Linked DNA regions of Homo sapiens: all the other regions are linked to region 1. The links are contacts of gene promoters, found by promoter capture Hi-C in human tissues and cell types (Jung and others, 2019). All regions are on one chromosome and are shown on one strand. Each heading gives the region's core, a stretch centred on a gene start or on the middle of the fragment in contact. The rest is flanking DNA. Distances are from core to core; before and after follow the strand shown. Region 1 holds the start of MYL5 (myosin light chain 5). Region 2 overlaps RNF4 (ring finger protein 4). Region 3 holds the start of MIR4800 (microRNA 4800). Region 4 overlaps LOC124900839. Region 5 overlaps NSD2 (nuclear receptor binding SET domain protein 2). Region 6 holds the start of LETM1 (leucine zipper and EF-hand containing transmembrane protein 1).

Region 1 (2,872 bases), core at 237-2,736:
CTAATTTTTGTAGAGACAGGGTTGCACCATGTTGGTCAGGCTGGTCTTGAACTCCTAACCTCAGGTGATCTGCCCGCCTTGGCCTCCCAAAGTGCTGGGATACAGGCATGAGCCACCACGCCTGGCCAGCTTCCCCATTTTTAAACAATCCGCATCTACTTAGCTCTGCTTAAATGTCCTCCTCCATTTTCCTTATCCCTGCACAAACCTGGGAGGGACAATCTATAAGAGCCAGTGTCACTCGTACCTTCTGCCAATTCTCTGGCAATCCGTTTCAGTTCATCCTGCTTCTTCTTCTCTTCTGCTGCTATCCTCCTCTCCTCTTCTGCCCGAGGTTTTAGGTAATCTGTTTGGCGGAATGCAGGAGAATAAAATTCACTGGAAATGCTGTACAAAAGGAACTGAGTCCACAGGTCAAGGTATCTTCAGCGACGCTGTAAACCAGACGCACCTGCTGTTCCCGCTCTTTATGTTAATGCGAGTCAACGCCTGACCTTCACCCTGACGAGTCCAACCCAGAGGCTACAGGGCCCCTGCTGCCCACCCGCTCACGCACTGGCTCACTCGTCCTCTGCGAACAGGGACTGCCTCCCATCAAGACCTCAGCACTCGAACAGCCATTTAGCACCCGTTTTCACCAAGAAGCAGCCGTTTTCGAGTCCCCCGCCCGGGCCTCAGAAGCCTGAGCTTTGGGTGAGCTGATTCCACTATCGGGGTCACGCTCGGTGGAGGACACGGTCCTGCAGCCTCGCATGCGTCCCAAGCCCCCTTCCAGAGCTGGAGTTCTCCAAATAGCACAGGAGCTCCACAGGAAAGCCGAGCAGACCCCGCCCCGGCCCCGCCCGCGGTCACTCACTGTAGCGCGTGGCTCCGTAGGCCACACCGAGGAACAGGGCGGAGTAGCGGCCGAGCTGCGAAAGAGGTTGGTCAGAGGCGGCGCGAAACGGGGCTCGCGGGACGGGGGTCGCGGGAGGAGGGGGGGCGGGGTCGCTGGGCAGAGGTCGCAGGAGGGGTGGGGGTCCGGTCGCCGGGCGAGGGTCACGGGGCGAGGATCATGGGGGCGGGGGCCGGGGGTCGCAGCCCGCGGGGTCGGAGCTGCGGGGCGGGACACGGGGGGGCCCAGAGCACTGGGCGGCGGCTGCAAAGCCTGGATCACCTTGATGAGCGGAGAGACCTGCACCGGTGGCACCATCTTGTCCCTGACCTCCGCACCGGAAGCACAACCTGCAGACGGAGCAGGATGCCGCACAAGCCAGCAAAGCCTTGGAGGCAAAGGCGGAGCTGGGCGCACGCATGCGCCGTCAGCGGCGAGAGAGCGGGGGGCCGCGCCCCCTGGCGACCGAAGGGTGACTGCGCGCCCCCGCGCGGCGGTGACGTCACGTGAGGCGCACGCGCACAAAGGCTGGGGAGTGCGCGGAGGATCATCGGCTGCGCCTGCGCAGTTGCTGCGTGAGGCGGGATCTGCGCCGAGTGGGCGGGGGGTTTCCTTTCCCCGCAGGGCTGGGGGTCCGCTGTTTCCCCGCGCTGCTGCCGAGGCCCCGCCGTCCGCGTCCTGGCCGTGTGTCCACACCCCAGACTGCGGGCCGGGGCGCACTCTGTCTTCTTGCGCGGAGCGTCGGAGGCCTGAGGTCAGGGCGGCTCGGGCGGGTCCAGCCCCGCGGACCGCGCCCACCCGAGGGTGGCCTGGGCAGGGACCTGGGGGTCCTGGGAGCGGAGTGTGAGCCGAGTGCAGGTGGCTCCCCGGGCAGGTCCTTCTCCTACAAGGCAGTAGTGTCTGTCGCCGGCCGGGCCGCGTTGGATTCCGCGGCCCGCGGGAGCATGGCCTCCAGGCCCCTCTTCCTGCGGCTGCTCTGCCCGGGAGCACGGGGCGCCCTTCATCCCGGAGCTGGAGCTTCCTCACCCCAGGATGCCCCATCACTTCTGTCCCGAAGAGGGGCTGGGATCTTCTTGGGAAGACCAGCCCCCAACAGAGGCTGCTCCCTGGGTCCCCCGACTCCAGGCCTCAGGACTCCACGGCTCCAAGGGCCTGCCCCGGCCCAGGCCTGGGGACCACTGAGCCCCACACTGGTCTTTGCTGGCCTCTGTCCACCTCCCGGTAGCTGTGTGTCTCCCACAGCTGCCCAGAGATGGGGCCTGCGGTGCCTATGCAGCCTCCCCGCTGTGCCCGAAGTGCTGACCCGCCAGCCCCATGGACACCAGGCTTGGAGTCTAGGCAGGAGCCTGGCACCCCCTCCACGTTCTGGGTCTTCCTGGCGGCAGCCATGCTGCCCGTGCTGGGCCACCCTCGGGCCCCCTTTGGCCCCATGCAGTAGTGACGCAAGGCCTCCTGTGTCCCCTCCTGGCCCTGCACTGCTACAGGCAGAAGCAACTGGAGAACTATGGCTCGGGTCTCGCTAAGGTGCAGCATCACAAACTCCAGGACTCTTGAAGCAAGCATGGGGAGGACCCGTGATCCTGGCGGCCTGGGCTACCTGTCCGGGCCTAAGTCGCCTCTGCCCCCTCTCCTGGCTTGCTCTGGGGTCCAGGGCCTGGGCCTCTCTGGCTGAGAAACTAGGAAGTCACTGGGCTCTGTTTCCTGAGCTGGGTATACCAAGGCCAGTCCTATAGGGCAGGGGTCCCCAACCCCCAGGTGCAGACCAGTACCAGCTTGTGGCCCGTTAGGAACCGGGCAGCACAGGACGAGGTGAGGGAGCATGATTGCCCGAGCTCCACCCACTTTCAGATCAGCCTGGGCATCAGATTCCCATAGGAGCGTGAACCCTACTGTGAGCTGCGCACTTGGATCTGGATTGCGCTCTGGTGAGAATCTAATGCCTGATGAACTGAGGTGGAATAGTTTCATCCCGAAACCTTCCTCCCCAACACGGAAAAA
Region 2 (2,872 bases), core at 194-2,693, 1.8 Mb after region 1:
GACACTTTCCCCAAATATTAGACCAATACTGTTTCTTAAAAAACTTCATTTAGTGTTTTGTTGTTGTTGTTGTTTGTTTGTTTTTGAGATGGAGTTTTGCTCTTGTTGCCCAGGCTGGGGTGCAGTGGCGTGATCTTTGCATCCCGGGGTTCAAGCAATTCTCCTGCCTCAGCCTCCCGAGTAGCTGGGATTACAGGCATGTGCCACCACACCTCGCTAATTTTGTATTTTTAGTAGAAACGGAGTTTCTCCATGTTGGTCAGGCTGGTCTCGAACTCTCAACCTCAGGTGATCCGCCCACCTCAGCCTCCCAAAGTGCTGGGATTACAGGTGTGAACCACTGTGCCTGGCCCATTCCGTGCTTTTTAATATTAATATTAATAGTAATCAGAAATAAAAATGGTTGTGCGTCATTTTTTACTTTATATAAATGGAAGTTGTACGTTAACTGTTTGGTCCATGTCCTTCTCACCTTTATCCTGTGCACATGTAGACATCACAGTATACCCTAAGGGCTGAAAGGCAAGCTTCACAACAGATGCAACCCATTTTGTATGTTGAGGTTCTAGCTATCAGTATATATCACTGTTATTCTCCATCCAACTAGGGAGACAAACTTGAGAGATAAATGGAAATTAAAAGTTTGTCCTTGGCCGGGCACGGTGGCTCACGCCTGTAATCCCAACACTTTGGAAGACTGAAGTGGGTGGATCACAAGGTCAGGAGTTCAAGACCAGCCTGGCCAAGATGGTGAAACCCCATCTCTACTAAAAATACAAACAAAATTAGCCAGGCATGCTGCCAGGCGCCTGTAATCCCAACTACTCGGGAGGCTGAGACAGAGAATTGCTTGAACCCAGGAGGCGGAGGTTGCAGTGAGCCAAGATCGCACCACTGCACTCCAGCCTTGGCGACAGAGCGAGACTCTGTCTCAAAAAAAAAAAAAAAAAAAAAGAATTTGCCCTAGATTAACCGATGAAGTTACTAAGCTAAGCCTGACTTTTGGTCCTTGGGCCAAGTGAGAGTGGTCAGCTTCACCTGCTGGGAGGAGCAGAGGTTTCAGGCTAGTCCATCCCAAAGAGAAAGGCCTGGGGCTGGGCATGCATGGTGCGTTCTCCCAGATGGGGCACAGAGGCATAGCCGTGTGGAAGTGGGATGCCGTGGAATAGAGGTATGCACATGCGCACACATACATAACCCCCCAGGTACATTTGTAAAAACCATACCTCCCCACTCAGAGCAGAATTCTGGAAGGGTGGTTACTGGCTTTCCCTCCTGAGGGAGGTGTTGGTCCTGGTGCTCTTTGCAGTGTATACTTCAGGATTGTTTTAGTTTGGGGTAAGCCTATAACATTAGCAGTCATACTAAAGTGTAGAGGGATACAACCTTACTTTCCTCTTAATCTTAATGCTTGTTGAAATACTTTCTTTTGAAGCTGGAGATGAAATTGTGGACCTCACTTGTGAATCTTTAGAGCCTGTGGTGGTTGATCTGACTCACAATGACTCTGTTGTGGTAAGTGTTGGAGTGTGAGAGTCGGCTGTTTCTTGGGTATGGGTCCCTGGCCAGTGCCAGCATCTGACAGCCTTGGTCACAGACTCCAAGTCAAGGTTACAGCTTATGCTAAAGAAGTTCATGCATCTTGTGGAATTGAGCTTTTAGAAAGAAAATAAACAGTAACAATAATAATAACAAAGAAGTTCATGCATTCAGTGACGAGAGCCCAAAATGAAAAATGTTTCTGGAAAATCATTTGTTATAGCCTTGTCGCCTATGGAGTAGGTCTGTGTAACCTGACCTTGCCACACCTGGGCACAAAAGTGGTTTGGGGAGAATCTCAAGACCCCCACATCTGTCTTCAGTCCCTGATTCCACAGTTTACACCAGCTGTGTGACCTTGGGCATGTGACTTAGCCTCATTCACTTTCCATGAAATGGGGACAGGTCACTCATGTCAGCAGGGCATGGTGTAAGACATCTTACAACAGATGCCGTGTTTGAGTGCCTGACACCTAGAATGGTGCCCAGTCACTGTGAGTGTATGCCCTCCCAACTGAAAGGAAAGGGAACGTTGGCTCAGCACTGCCCATGGGAAATCTCTCAAGTTCCAAAAGTGCCTGCTACTTAGCATGGCCTCAGGGGATGCAGGCTCCCTGCATTGCCACCTGATGCCTGCTGCGTCCTGATGCCAGGGAGGCTGGAGCCCAGGAGGCTGCCTGTGTCCCTGTCTCATGGCACCGGTTACAGACTGCAGGGGACGTGTGTATACGTGTCCTGCCTGCCAGGAGGGAGGCCTTGTCTGGTCAGAGGACACACGGAGAAGCTATTTCTGATAGACCTGTTTCATGGTGCATGCAGGTCTGGGAATCTGGTCAGCATCTTAAGGGCAAGTTTGCCTCTGGAAGATGCCACTTGAGTGTTTTCTGACAGTGTGCTCGGAACACAGGTCGGGGTGGGGGCACACTTGGCAGCATTGGCAGTGGGGTGGTAAGTGCTGCTGAGGAGGACTGTGGGGTGTGGGGGCTGCTAGTAGCTGAGTCTTCGCCTTGGCCCTGGGCTCACTGGTGTTGGGGTTATCCTGTTTGGCTGATGCCTGGGTATCTGAATAGGGACACCCCATAGGTGTTGCTTCTTAGTTGTGCTGAGAACTTCAGAATAGGGTTATACTGAGAAGTTTCAAGACTTCAATGCAAAGAAAAGGACAGGGATGGAAAACCATCTGAGATAAGCAGCAGTGGGTTTAGTTGTACGTGGTCCCTGCTTAGGTCTCATTAACGTGTTTTCTGAGGTACATACACACATATGACTTTGCTTATCATCCCTGTGTCCTGCATGGAGTTCTGGAAAGATAACTAATTTGGTATATTAGCTG
Region 3 (2,872 bases), core at 373-2,872, 1.6 Mb after region 1:
GGGGAAGCTCCTTTCTGGGCACCCCTGGACCCCAGTGGGGCCGGAAGGAGATGCAGACAGGCCTCCTCACAACCACCCGCAACGCGTTCGGATGCCCCTCAGCTCCAGGCACCATGCCCCCTACAGCCTGCAGGGCAGGTTCTGTGCCAGAGTTGTTTCCAGGGACCCCCTTCCGCCACAGTGGGCCCCCCATCCTGGGGCGTCTATGCGTACGACTGAAAATAGACACGAATTTTCCCCATGATATGGGAATTGGCTACAGATGTACCAGAGGCACGGCAGGCACTGCTATGGGCCAGCCCCAAGGACAGAGGACGTCAGGAAGGAAAGGCGGGTGCAAGCCTCCTGGTGCCAGGCCTGCACCACCCAGCGAGCACAGTCTTCATTGGCTGCCAGTGTCTGAAACCTGGAACCCTCGCCTAGGCCAGGAAGCAGGGGGCTCGAGTCAGGTGACAGGTGAGAATCCATCTCTCTAGTGAGCAAGCAGGCCCCTGCCAGCCACTGGGGAGGGCAACACTGGGGACCAGGTCACAGCCCCTCCGTGCCACCCACAGGGGCCTGGCTGCATCGCCTCCAGGAAGCCCTGGCTGCCGGGAGGGGCTGCCCACAGGAGATGGGAGGACAGCACTAGCTGGGCAGGCCTGGGGCACCCTGAGCCACGAGGGACATGCTGGTGGGAAGGGCAAGGCCTGACACAAGACACAAGGCACACTTTGACGACGTGACGGAGGGACAGGTCCCTGAGACGCTGGGTGGCTCCCACCCCTCAGCAAACAAGGACGCAACAACAGCTAGGAAAATAGAATACAAAAATCTGGTACAGGAAACAGAGGCGGCACACACGGACGTCCCTAGGCCGAGAGTCTTTAGGCTTTCTTCTTTTTAAAAATGGTTTTTTTTTTTTTTCTGGGAAAGCCTCTCTGCCAGCTGAAGCTGCCGCAGCAGAGCTCATGAGAAGCCCTTTCCTAAGGTGGCTCCAGGAGCCCTAACCGGGCTGCTGGGCAGTGCAGCATTTTACTTTTTTGCTTTTTGTTTAAAAAAGGGAGATGAGTAAGCCCCCGAGGACCCAGCGGCTGCAACTTAACCAGCCTCCAGTTCACCCCAGCCCCAGCCAGGAAGAGAAGCCCCTCTCCTGTGCAGACAGGCAGGACTACTGGGTGGGCGTGGGTGAGCAGGAGCTAGAGGGGGATCCAGGCACAGCCCAGGGGCTGTTTGCCAGATGACCCCTGAAGGCCATCATCCCCAGAACATGTGACCTCGGGACGCCCAGGTGTGTCTGCATGTGTGAGCATGTACATGAGTGGGTGTGTCTAGGTGCGTGCGCGTGTGCGTCTGACAGTCCTACCAGAGCAGACGCTGCCCAGCTCGGCGTGGGCTGGGCTGGCCTGCCTGGCCCCGAGAGCCCAGCCCTAGGTTCTGACACCTGCGAAGTGGGAAGGACCTTAACCACCCACCTGCCCCAGGTGCTCACCCAGTTCCCGCCCTTCACAGACCCCTTGTCCACGCCAGGAGCCTATGTGGACTGACAGGTAGGTGGACAGACGGACGGATGGACAGACAGCCTTGCCTTCCTTCCTTCCTCGGTCCACTCCTTTCTCCTGGGATCCAGGGTTGGGGTCTGAGCTCCCTGTGGTGGTCATTAAGCCCCTCACACGGCACCTGCCGAGGTTTGCAGCAATGACGTTTAATACTTCTGGAATGATTAGGAATCTGAGAACAGACCGTGGGCGGCTATGCTGACCAGGGCTCCGGATGTGGAAGCTGGGCCCTGCCTCCTTGCAGGGGACTCTGCCCAGCTGGAAGGGGCAGGCAGCTCGGCAGGCCCTGACCGGCAAGCGGGCAGTGCCAGGCAGCCCAGCAGCAGCTGGAGCTTCCAGAATGGCACAGCAGTGGGCCTGTGGAGAGGCTGGCGTCAACTGAAGGAGAACTGGAGGGCTGACACGCGTGGCTGGCGGGCAGGCAGGCCAAGGAGCAGAGGGCACGGGCCTACGAGAGGGCGGGGCGGCCCAGCCGCCGGCAGTGGGGCCCGAAGCCACTGTCGCCGCCGGTGCCACTCTGCAGGCTGTAGTGGTCGTCCGCGTCACTGCTGCTGCCAACACTGTCCAGCTCACCAGGGCCAAACTCCATGCCCTCTATGTCCACTTCTAGGGAGAATAGAGTGGGGATGGGGTCAGGCCACTCTGAGGGTGCCAGCCCATTTCTCCCTTTTCTGGAAGCAGAAGCTCTAGGCAGAGGGGCAGAAGTGCGGAGGGCGCTGTCTGGGCCCTGGGGCAGCAGACGCCAGGAGGGCTCTGGCTGAGAACCCGGCCTCAGAAGCACCAGTCCTCAGCGGGCCACACAGCCTCTGCATCCCACCCTCCCTGTCCAGTCCCTTCTGCGCTTAGTGACAAACACACACCCCAGTGCAGCAGGGAGCTGGGAGGGTTCTCCCCAGCCCCAGCACCAGGCACCTCCTCTCCACCCAGGGAGCTGCACCACTGCGCACCCGGAGGCCCAGGTGAGGCTGCCCCGCGCCCCACGCCCCACCTTGCTCTGAGTCGTCCGTGGAGACAGCAGAGCCCGTGCTATCTGTGCGCACGCGCTCCACGCTCTGCACCGACAGCTGCTCCAGGCGCCGCTTCAGGAAACGATGCTCCTGCTGCAGCTGCTCCTTGATGCTCAGTGCCCGGCGGTCCTGCTCCTCCAGTTTCTGGGGTCGAGGGGGGCTGTGAGCTCACAGCGGGAAGAGGAGTCCCCCCATCCCCCTGGCCAGGCACTGGGGCACCCAGGCCTGGGCCCGGGAGGTTCCCCATCCCTGCCAAGACCTAGCCAAGGCTACAGGCCACAGGGTGCCCAGTCTCTGCCAGCCCCACAGCCTGAGGTGGGTCCCTCC
Region 4 (2,872 bases), core at 137-2,636, 1.3 Mb after region 1:
AAATTGTGTGGGTCCAGGCTCTGTTTTCTGGTTTGTAAATCCAGAAAGACAGTCAGTTTTCTGTTAGGGTTATCTGCTTGCACCATGCCGGGGCTCCCTAGCTGTCCTCAGGCTTAAGCTTTGAAAATGGCCTTAAAACTCACCAGGATCAGTCAGCTGTGGTGGCTCATGCCTGTGATCCCAACACTTTGGAAGGCCGAGGCAGGTGGATCACCTGAGGTCAGGAGTTCAAAACCAGCCTGGCCAACATGGCAAAACCCCATCTCTACTAAAAATACAAAAATTAGCCGGGCACAGTGGTGGGCACCTGTAATCCCAGCTACTCAGGAGGCTGAGGCAGGAGCATTGCTTGAATCCGGGAGGCAGAGGTCGCAGTGAGCTGAGATCACACCATTGCACTCCAGCCTGGGCAACAGAGCAAGACTTTGTCTCAAACAAACAAACAAATTCACCAGGCTGGTCCTTTCCTCCAAGTTTTTACTTCCCTCCAAAATCCGCTTGCTTTGGTTTATGCTCCAAAGCCTTTAATCAGTGGGAGGGTTGGCCTGTTAGCTATCCCGCCATACTTTTCACTGTTACATGAGTCCATTAAGTGATATGTTTGCTTATTTTTATTCTTATTTTTTTGAGACGGATTCTCACTCTGTCGCCCAGGCTGGAGTGCAGTAGTGTGATCTTGGCTCACTGCAAGCTCCGCCTCCCGGGTTCTGGCCGTTCTCCTGCCTCAGCCTCCTGAGTATCTGGGACTACAAGTCGCCCGCCACCACGCCCGGCTAATTTTTTGTATTTTTATTAGAGATGGGGTTTCACCGTGTTAGCCAGCATGGTCTCGATCTCCTCACCTCGTGATCCGCCCGCCTCAGCCTCCCAAAGTGCTGGGATTACAGGTGTGAGCCACCATGCCCGGCCATGTTTGCTTATTTTTTAAGGTGCCCTAGATCAAATTAAAGAAGTTCCCTTCTATTCCTAATTTGCTACAGGTTTTTAAAAATCATGACCAACATTTAATTTTATCAAATGTTCTTATAAAATGTTTTGTTGTGCATACTGAGATGATTGTATGATTTTTTCACCTTTATTTTGTAAATGTGATGAATTACATTGATTGCCTTTCAAATTACATAAACCTTACTTTCCTAGAATAAGCCCAACTTGGACTATGTTATTCTTTTTTACACGTTGCTAGATTTCGCTTGTTAGTATTTTATCTAGACTACTAATGCTTTGTTCATGAGGAGAGCCTTTACAGTGTTGGGTTAAGTTTATGCAGCCTCTTGCAGTGAGTGGATCCCTCTTCTCACCTTACCTGGGAGAAGCCCTCTAGGTCATCACCACACCAGCAGCCAGTCCTAATCGGCTGCTACGACGGCTCCTGGAAGCTGGAGAAAAAAATGATGACAGAGAAAATGAGGTGGAAGGCTGGGCACAGTGGCTCATGCCTGTAATCCCAGCACTTTGGGAGGCCGAGGCAGGTGGATCATGAGGTCAAGAGATCAAGACCATCCTGGCCAACATGGTGAAACCCTGTCTCTACTAAAAATACAAAAATTAACTGGGCGTGGTGGCTCATGCCTGTAATCCCAGCTACACAGGAGGCTGAGGCAGGAGAATCGCTTGAACCTGGGAGGTGGAGGTTGCCGTGAGCTGAGATCGTGCCATTGCACTCCAGCCTGGGCACCAAGCGTGAGACTCCGTCTCAAAAAAAAAAAAAAAAAAAGAAAGAAAGAAAATGAAAAAAAAAAAGAGATGGAAAAGACAGAGGGGCCTTGGCAGAATATTGAGGACGGGATGAGAATTGAGACCACCTGTGTCCACTTAACTCTTGGGATCAAGAGCTGAGATCACCTGTGTCAACCTGATTTAATGATTATTTCCAGAAAATTCTTTCCAGGAAGATAAAACTAAATCAGTCAATCACTGTTTGCTTCAGGAAAATCTTGCAGAACAATGTATCCTGGCACATAGTTTACCAATCTGGGAACCAGCTCACTCATCAGAACCTTCATCTGGCTGTGTTTCTCTGTCCTGCACTGTTGGGCCATAAGCTCTGTCCTATCCCAATGAGTCCTTGCACTGAAAGACAGACCATCAACCATCTGAGCCCAGATTCTAAAATCCTATGAGGCCAGGCGCACTTTGGGAGGCTGAGGTGGGAGGATTGCGTGAGCCCAGGAGTTAGAGACCAGCCTTGGCAACACAGCAAGACTCTGTCTCTACAAAACACTAAAAAATTAGCCGGGTGTGGTGGAGCACACCTGTAGTCCCAGCTACTTGGGAGGTTGATGGGGGAGGATTGCTTGAGCCCAGGAGGTTGAGGCTGCAGTGAGCTGTGGTTGCACCACTGCAATCTAGCCCGGGCAACAGAGCAAGACCCTGTCTCTAAAAATAAACAAGTTTTCTGGGAGTCACTGTTGAGTTGTTGGCAGTGAATGGTCCTAAATGTTCCCATGGGATTCGGCTGAGACGGCCTCCCCAGGATGGCCTGAGACCTGCGACTGGAACCAGCACTCTCCCCGTGACCCTCTGGTTTTCTTTTGTGAAAGCTCCTTGTGTTCCAGGATTGAGAAAGCCTTCTTACGTGTGCTTTGATTATCTGATGAGATGAAGATTTTGATCCTTGTGGAAACTACTTTGCTCCTAACAACAATTCTGTGTGTCCGTCTGTCCTTGTCACCTTCTGTTGTGAAGAGCTCCTTGGGAAGAGGATGAACTAACACAGGTCTGAATGTCCCTGTCTCAAGGGCACCAAGGGCCAGTGAGTTCAGATCTCGTGAATCCACTGTTCTTATCTAACAAACTAAGTCCTCATCTGCACCTTCAGTTTTGCCTTGTCTTCAGACAGATTCTCTGCTCACGCCTGTCCTCCTAGGGA
Region 5 (2,872 bases), core at 239-2,738, 1.2 Mb after region 1:
CTTTTTAAAGAATTGATTGATTTGATTACATTTGGTTTGCTAGTTAAAAAATCCAGACAGATTGGCCGGGTGCAGTGGCTCACGCCTGTAATCCCAGCACTTTGGGAGGCCGAGGCGGTTGGATCACGAGGTCAGGAGGTCGAGACCATCCTGGCTAACATGATGAAACCCCGTTTCTACTAAAAAAAAAAAATACAAAAAATTAGCTGGGCATGGTGGTGGACGCCTGTAGTCCCAGCTACTCGGGAGGCTGAGGCAGGAGAATGGCGTTAACCCAGGAGGCGGAGCTTGCAGTGAGCCAAGACTGCGCCACTGCACTCCAGCCTGGGAGACAGCGAGACTCCATCTCAAAAAAAAAGAATTCAAGACAGATTTTGGCTGGGTGCGGTGGCTCAAGCTTGTAATCCCAGCACTTTGGGAGGCCGAGGCGGGTGGATCATGAGGTCAGGAGATTGAGACCATCCTGGCTAACATGGTGAAACCCTGTCTCTACTAAAAATATAAAAAATAAGCTGGGCATGGTTGCAGTGCCTGTAGTCCCAGCTACTCGGGAGGCTGAGGCAGGAGAATGGTGTGAACCTGGGAGGCGGAGCTTGCAGTGAGCTGAGATCGCGCCACTGCCCTCCACCCTGGTTGACAGAGCAAGACCCCTGTCTCAAAAAAAAAAAACCAAGACAGATTTCAAATTAGTTTTGTTTTAGTATCTGCTTTCCTAAAACCACCTGGCCCCAGATGAGTTTTCAAAGCATTTTACTTTCTGTAATACTTAGTGGTTTCAACAAAATATACAAGGATAGAAATTGCAGTGTTGGTTAGCTGAGTGATGGCCTCAGCTCAAAAACTCCAGTAGTGGATAGGCACAGTTGCTCATGCCTGTAATTGCAGCACTTTGGGAGGCTGAGGTGGGAGGATCACTTGAGACTAGGAGTTTGACACCAGCTTGGGCAACATAGGGAGACCCCATCTCTACAAAAATTTTTGAAAATTAGCTGGGCTTGGTGGTGTGTGCCTATAGTCCCAGATACTTGGGTGGCTGAAGTGGGAGGTCACCTGAGTCCAGGACTTTGAGGCTGCAGTGAGCTGTGATCATACCACCACACTCCAGCCTGGGAGATAGCACAACCCTCTCTCAAAAAACAAACCTAAACACAAAACCCCAATAGTGAGACTACCCTAGTGGGTGTGTAGAAAAAATGCTTTTTTTTTCTGGAAGGAATTGGAACCTCAATTTTTAAGTTGACTTGAGTTGGCACTGAGAGAGTTGATGATGTGAATTAAATTTGTTATGCCGTTTGCTGGTGCGGTGGGTGGCTCACGCCTGTAATCCCAGTGCTTTGGGAGGCCAAGGCAGGCAGATCACCTGAGGTCAGGAGTTCGAGACCAGCCTGGGAAATGTGGTGAAACCCCGTCTCTACTAAAAATACAAAAAATTAGCTGGGCGTGGTGGTGGGTGCCTGTAATCCCAGCTACTCGGGAGGCTGAGGCAGGAGACTTCCCTGAGCCTGGGAGGCAGAGGTTGAAATGAGCCGAGATCATGCTACTGCACTCCAGCCTGGGCGACAGGACGAGATTCTGTCTCAAGGAAAAAAAAAAAATTGTTATGCTTTTAGAGGATCTGTGCATGTTAGCAATGTTCTTACATTTTGATGGTTTTCATATATTTTTTGCTGCTATATTATGGAGGCTAATGATCAGAAAGCATTTTTCCGACTCCGGTTTTACTGTCTTCAGGTAGTTCTCTACACACTGCCTTGTCTTTCTAAAATACAGATGTCCTATGTGTCCCCAGTCTTCAGGGGGTGACTCTCACTGCCCATTGGGGTTCAAGACGAGTCTCTCACTGGCTTTCTGACTCTCACTGCACTACTTGTTTTGCCCTCATCTCAGTTACTCAGCTCATCTCTTTCTGCCATGTTTTTCCTCTGGGCCTTTGTGTGGTCAATTTTTGTTCCTTTCTTCTGCCCATGTGCCCCCTTACCCCATGTGTTTGGGGGATAGGCATGCTTTCCCTCTTCCTTCCTTCTGCCAGGTCTCAGCTTGGGCCCCACACTGAATGCTGTGCCTGACTCCTGCCTGTTTTGGGAGGCTCTTGTCTTTTCCATCGTCACCCACTCCCATTCTCATTCTGTTCCAGCCACACGGGCCTCTTGCCTGCTCTGAAGCCCTGCAGCTCTGCTGCCTCCGACTAGTGCCCTTGTTCCTTCTTTGACCTGGAATGCTGTCCCCAGGTATCTGTGTGGCTTACCCCTCACCCTCCTTCAGGTCTTTGTGCTTCTCCCTCTCGGGCACCTTCTCTGACCACTGATTTAAAGTACTCTGTTGTGACCAGGTACTATTACAGTTTATCTGTGATCCTGGTGCTTTATGAAGCCAAGACGAGAGGATCACTCCAGCCCAGGAGTTTGAGGTTGCAGGGAACCACGATTATGCCACTGCATTCCAGACTGGGTGGCAGTAAGACTCTGTCCCAAAAGAAAAATAAAATTTAAAAAAAGTATTATATATATACACACACACTTCTGAGACGGAGTCTAACTCTGTCACCCAGGCTGGAGTGCAGTGGCACAATCTAGGCTCACCACAACCTCTGCTTCCTGGGTTCAAGCGGTTCTCCTGCCTCAGCCTCCCAAGTAGCTGGGATTACGGGTGTGTGCCACCATGCCCGGCTGATATATATATATATATATATATATATTTTTTTTTTTTTTTTTTTTTTTTTTTTTTTTTGTATTTTTAGTAGAGACTAGGCCATGTTGGCCAGGCTGGTCTCGAACTCCTGACCTCAAGTGATCTGCCTGTCTTGGCCTCCCAAAGTGTTCGGATTACAGGCGTAAGCCACCATGCCTGGCCAAAAAAACTTTTTTTAATTATT
Region 6 (2,872 bases), core at 189-2,688, 1.2 Mb after region 1:
AGGAGGTGGAGGTTGCAGTGAGCCAAGATCACACCACTGCACTCTAGCCTGAGCAACAGATTGAGACTCTGTCTTTAAAAACAAACAAACAAACAAACAAAAAAAAACAAGAATTGGGAGGATACATTCAGGGCAACTTCAATCTATCTCTTTGGGGGTGGGGAACAGAGACAAGAATATTGAAGCTGGGTGCCTGGGCATGGTGGCTCCTGTAATCCCAGCACTTTGGGAGGCCAAAGCAGGAGGATCAGTTGAGCCTTGGAGTTCAAGACCAGGCTGGGCAACATACCAAGACCCTGTCTCTACAAAAAAACTACAAAAAAAAAAATTAGCTGGGTGTTGTGTGGCACAACTAACAACTTGGGAGGCTGAGGCAGAAGGATAGCTTGAGCCCAGGAGTTTGAGGTGCAGTGAGTATGATCGCACCACTGCACTAATTATTTTACTTGAGTCCCTCTTAGCAAGTTTTATGTTTATTCCAATTTTACAAATAAGGACATAGACTCAAATAAGTTGGTTAATTAGAGAGAGAGAGGAGGTGGGCACACCCTGGGACAGCATTCACTCCAGACAGCACCTGAGGCTAGGGGGGCTAAAGCCACGCACCCTGAGGACCCTCAGCGGCTCCGGAGTCCCCGTGTTCCCCGGGTGCCGGTCGCGGCCTAATCACACCACAGGGGTTTGTAGGTGCTGGCATCACCTCATCAGTGACGGACCAGGAAGGCTCCTGCAGCCCAGCAGGTCCTGCTCGCCGGTGTCTGCCCTGCCCACCCAGTCTCGTCTCCGGGACCCCAAACGTGACCAAAGGGCACGGCCGTCCTCGTGCGTGGACACGTTCCACCAAGCTTACTCGCGCAGGGCGCGCCAGGGCTGCCCAGCCCTTCAGAATTTTCCCACTGTCTCTGAGGCAGTGACCCGGGGGACCCGGCCGCCTAAGGTCACAACACACGGCAGAGGCCCAGCGGCTCCGCCCGGCGCTGGCGGCCCAGCCCGCGACGAGACCCGGGGCCCCACGGTCCCGCAGGGGCTCCGGAGGCCGGGACCACCGGGCTCCCCGCATCGCCGTGACAACCAGCCCGAACCCGCGGGTCGTCCGCGCTCCCGACCCACCAGCCGGGAGCCGGCCCCGCCCTGGGGTGCCCGCCGCTTACCCCGCGGGACGGTGTACCGAGGCGGCGGCGGGAGGCGGGCGGGCGCCCGGCCGCGGCAGCTCCTCAGTAAGATGGACGCCATGTGCTCGGGCGCGGCGGCCGCTCCGGCCTCCTGCGCTGCCTCCTTCTCCGCGGCGGCCGCGGCTCTTCGCCGTCCCGGCGGCGCTTCAGACCCGGCCCGCGCGGACGGCTGACAGAGGCGGCTGGCCTCGGACGGGAGGCGCTCTCCTCAAGGACCCGGCACCAGCGGCGGCCTTGTCCCGGCACAGACGTCCGGAGGCGCGGGGCGGGGCGGCCAGGCCGCGGCTCCCATTGGGCCCCTCAGCGCCCGCCGCTGGCCAGGTGAGGGGCGGACCGCGCCACCGCGGACTACCGGTTCCGGCGTGCACCGGGACGGCCTGCACGCTGGGGTGCGGACTACCGATCCCGGCGTGCACCGGAGCGGCGGACTACCCTGAGGCGCGGACTACCGGTCCCGGCGTGCACCGGGGCGGCTGGCTCCTGGGGCTCGCTGCATCCTGGTTCCCGTCGTACCGTGGACGCCGGGGCTCGCAGCGTGGCGGCCGCAGGAGCTGAGGGAGTCGGCCGCGCTTGCGCGGGGAGTGTCTTTTCGTCTCCGGGCGGCGGCAGCAGCGCGTGTGTCCGGAACTTTTCTGGGACTAAGTCCTGCACCCACGAGTAGAAAACGGCTCCTGGGAGCTTGGGGCTCCAAGGGCAAGTCAGGGGACGCTGGGGATGGAGGGGCGCCCTCGACGCCCTCGGCCGCGGTCCCTCGCCGGCCCCCCTGCTCTGTGGCTCTGCCCTCGGCGGTCTGCACTCTGGCGCGCGCAGCTCTGAGTGCCTCTTCCCTGCGTACCGGGCGGCGCTCCCCAGATACGGCGCTGCTCGGCGTCGGGAGTCCCCGTCACCACTGGGGGGACGGGAGCGCAGGGTCCCGCCCCGAAGGACAGGGCCATGCCGGCCCCTGGAGGCGAGGGCACTAGGCCGGGTGGCGGCGCAGCCAGCATAGCGGCCCCCCATCCCGGCACACCGCGTCCTCCCGTCTGAGCGGGAGGGGTAGATATGGGTCCTGCGTTGGCGCGGGGGGACCCCTCGTTTCGCTCTGGCCTAAGCAGCCCCTGGGGTCCCGCGCGCCGCAAGAGCGCCAGACTTCCTAACCTGGGCCATACCCTGTCCGCTCCACTTCCCAGTCCAAGAAGGAACAGCCGAAGCCCAGGACGCCAAGGACCTGGCTCGAAGTCTCCAGAATTCCCGCCAGAGCTGGGCTGGGCTCGCGGACCGCTCATGCGCCGTCTCCCAGGAGCCTCCCCCCAGCCCAGTTTAATAGCCGGCCCTGACCAGTCCAGGGGAGAGAGACCGTGCAGCCTCCCAGCAGACCGTGACCTCTGAGCTCCACCTTCCCCTTCCTTCCCTAAGATGAGGATCCCTGAGTTGGGGCAGAGAAAGCAGGCAGGGAGAAAAATGGGGACCTGCGGCGCTGGGGGCCCAGCTGGTGGAGATCTCCAGCTAGGAGATCCCCAGCACAGCACTTGCCCTGCCCTCTGTCTTGTTCAGGGATGTAACCTGCCTCCTCCTGCTTCTCCGCGGCACCTCAGGGCACCGCCTGGGGAGGGTCTTGTAGTGCACACTCAGCATCTCTGTTCCCTGGAGCGCATGGGGTGTGAAACGCCTGATGCCAGCCAGCTCCCCAGTCTTGAGAGGCTGGTTGAATGGCACATCTC

Evidence for each region. The method cuts DNA at HindIII sites, captures the fragments that hold promoters and counts their contacts. A contact is called where the count stands out against the background at its distance.
Region 2: a fragment that was not itself captured here is called in contact with the fragment with the promoter of MYL5 in region 1 in 1 of the 25 tissues and cell types used here (H1 embryonic stem cells).
Region 3: a fragment that was not itself captured here is called in contact with the fragment with the promoter of MYL5 in region 1 in 1 of the 25 tissues and cell types used here (psoas muscle).
Region 4: a contact is called between a fragment that was not itself captured here and the fragment with the promoter of MYL5 in region 1, in 1 of the 25 tissues and cell types used here (lymphoblastoid cells).
Region 5: a contact is called between a fragment that was not itself captured here and the fragment with the promoter of MYL5 in region 1, in 1 of the 25 tissues and cell types used here (H1 embryonic stem cells).
Region 6: a contact is called between the fragment with the promoter of LETM1 here and the fragment with the promoter of MYL5 in region 1, in 1 of the 25 tissues and cell types used here (adrenal gland).

The regions. Positions count from the first base shown.
Region 1 is chr4:673,056-675,927 of GRCh38, forward strand. It overlaps MYL5 (myosin light chain 5), which reads left to right and starts at 1,487. Exons shown (of 9, transcript NM_002477.2): 1 at 1,487-1,628. ATP5ME (ATP synthase membrane subunit e) reads right to left here and starts at 1,221. Exons shown (of 4, transcript NM_007100.4): 1 at 1,157-1,221; 2 at 857-911; 3 at 248-346. The coding sequence starts at 1,192. RefSeq lists enhancers at 1,353-2,110, 1,988-2,057 and a silencer at 1,508-1,777. The HindIII fragment of the contact is 2,744 bases long and covers 1-1,760 here.
Region 2 is chr4:2,499,224-2,502,095 of GRCh38, forward strand. RNF4 (ring finger protein 4) reads left to right here. Exons shown (of 8, transcript NM_002938.5): 4 at 1,436-1,515. Among named protein-coding and RNA genes, the nearest start is that of RNF4, 32 kb to the left of the region's middle. The HindIII fragment of the contact is 8,662 bases long and covers 1-2,872 here.
Region 3 is chr4:2,248,558-2,251,429 of GRCh38, forward strand. It overlaps MXD4 (MAX dimerization protein 4), which reads right to left. Exons shown (of 6, transcript NM_006454.3): 5 at 2,527-2,689; 6 at 1-2,144. The coding sequence ends at 1,987. It overlaps MIR4800 (microRNA 4800), which reads right to left and starts at 1,599; the gene lies at 1,520-1,599. The HindIII fragment of the contact is 7,274 bases long and covers 1-2,872 here.
Region 4 is chr4:2,016,364-2,019,235 of GRCh38, forward strand. LOC124900839 reads right to left here. Exons shown (of 4, transcript XM_047416543.1): 3 at 1,307-1,379. Among named protein-coding and RNA genes, the nearest start is that of NELFA, 8.8 kb to the left of the region's middle. The HindIII fragment of the contact is 5,535 bases long and covers 1-2,872 here.
Region 5 is chr4:1,875,558-1,878,429 of GRCh38, forward strand. All of the region lies in intron 1 of NSD2 (nuclear receptor binding SET domain protein 2), which reads left to right. Among named protein-coding and RNA genes, the nearest start is that of NSD2, 5.6 kb to the left of the region's middle. The HindIII fragment of the contact is 5,818 bases long and covers 1-2,872 here.
Region 6 is chr4:1,854,718-1,857,589 of GRCh38, forward strand. It overlaps LETM1 (leucine zipper and EF-hand containing transmembrane protein 1), which reads right to left and starts at 1,439. Exons shown (of 14, transcript NM_012318.3): 1 at 1,152-1,439. The coding sequence starts at 1,233. RefSeq lists silencers at 1-81, 876-1,065, 1,076-1,635, 2,036-2,255 and enhancers at 647-1,148, 1,786-1,855, 2,525-2,872. The HindIII fragment of the contact is 14,961 bases long and covers 1-2,872 here.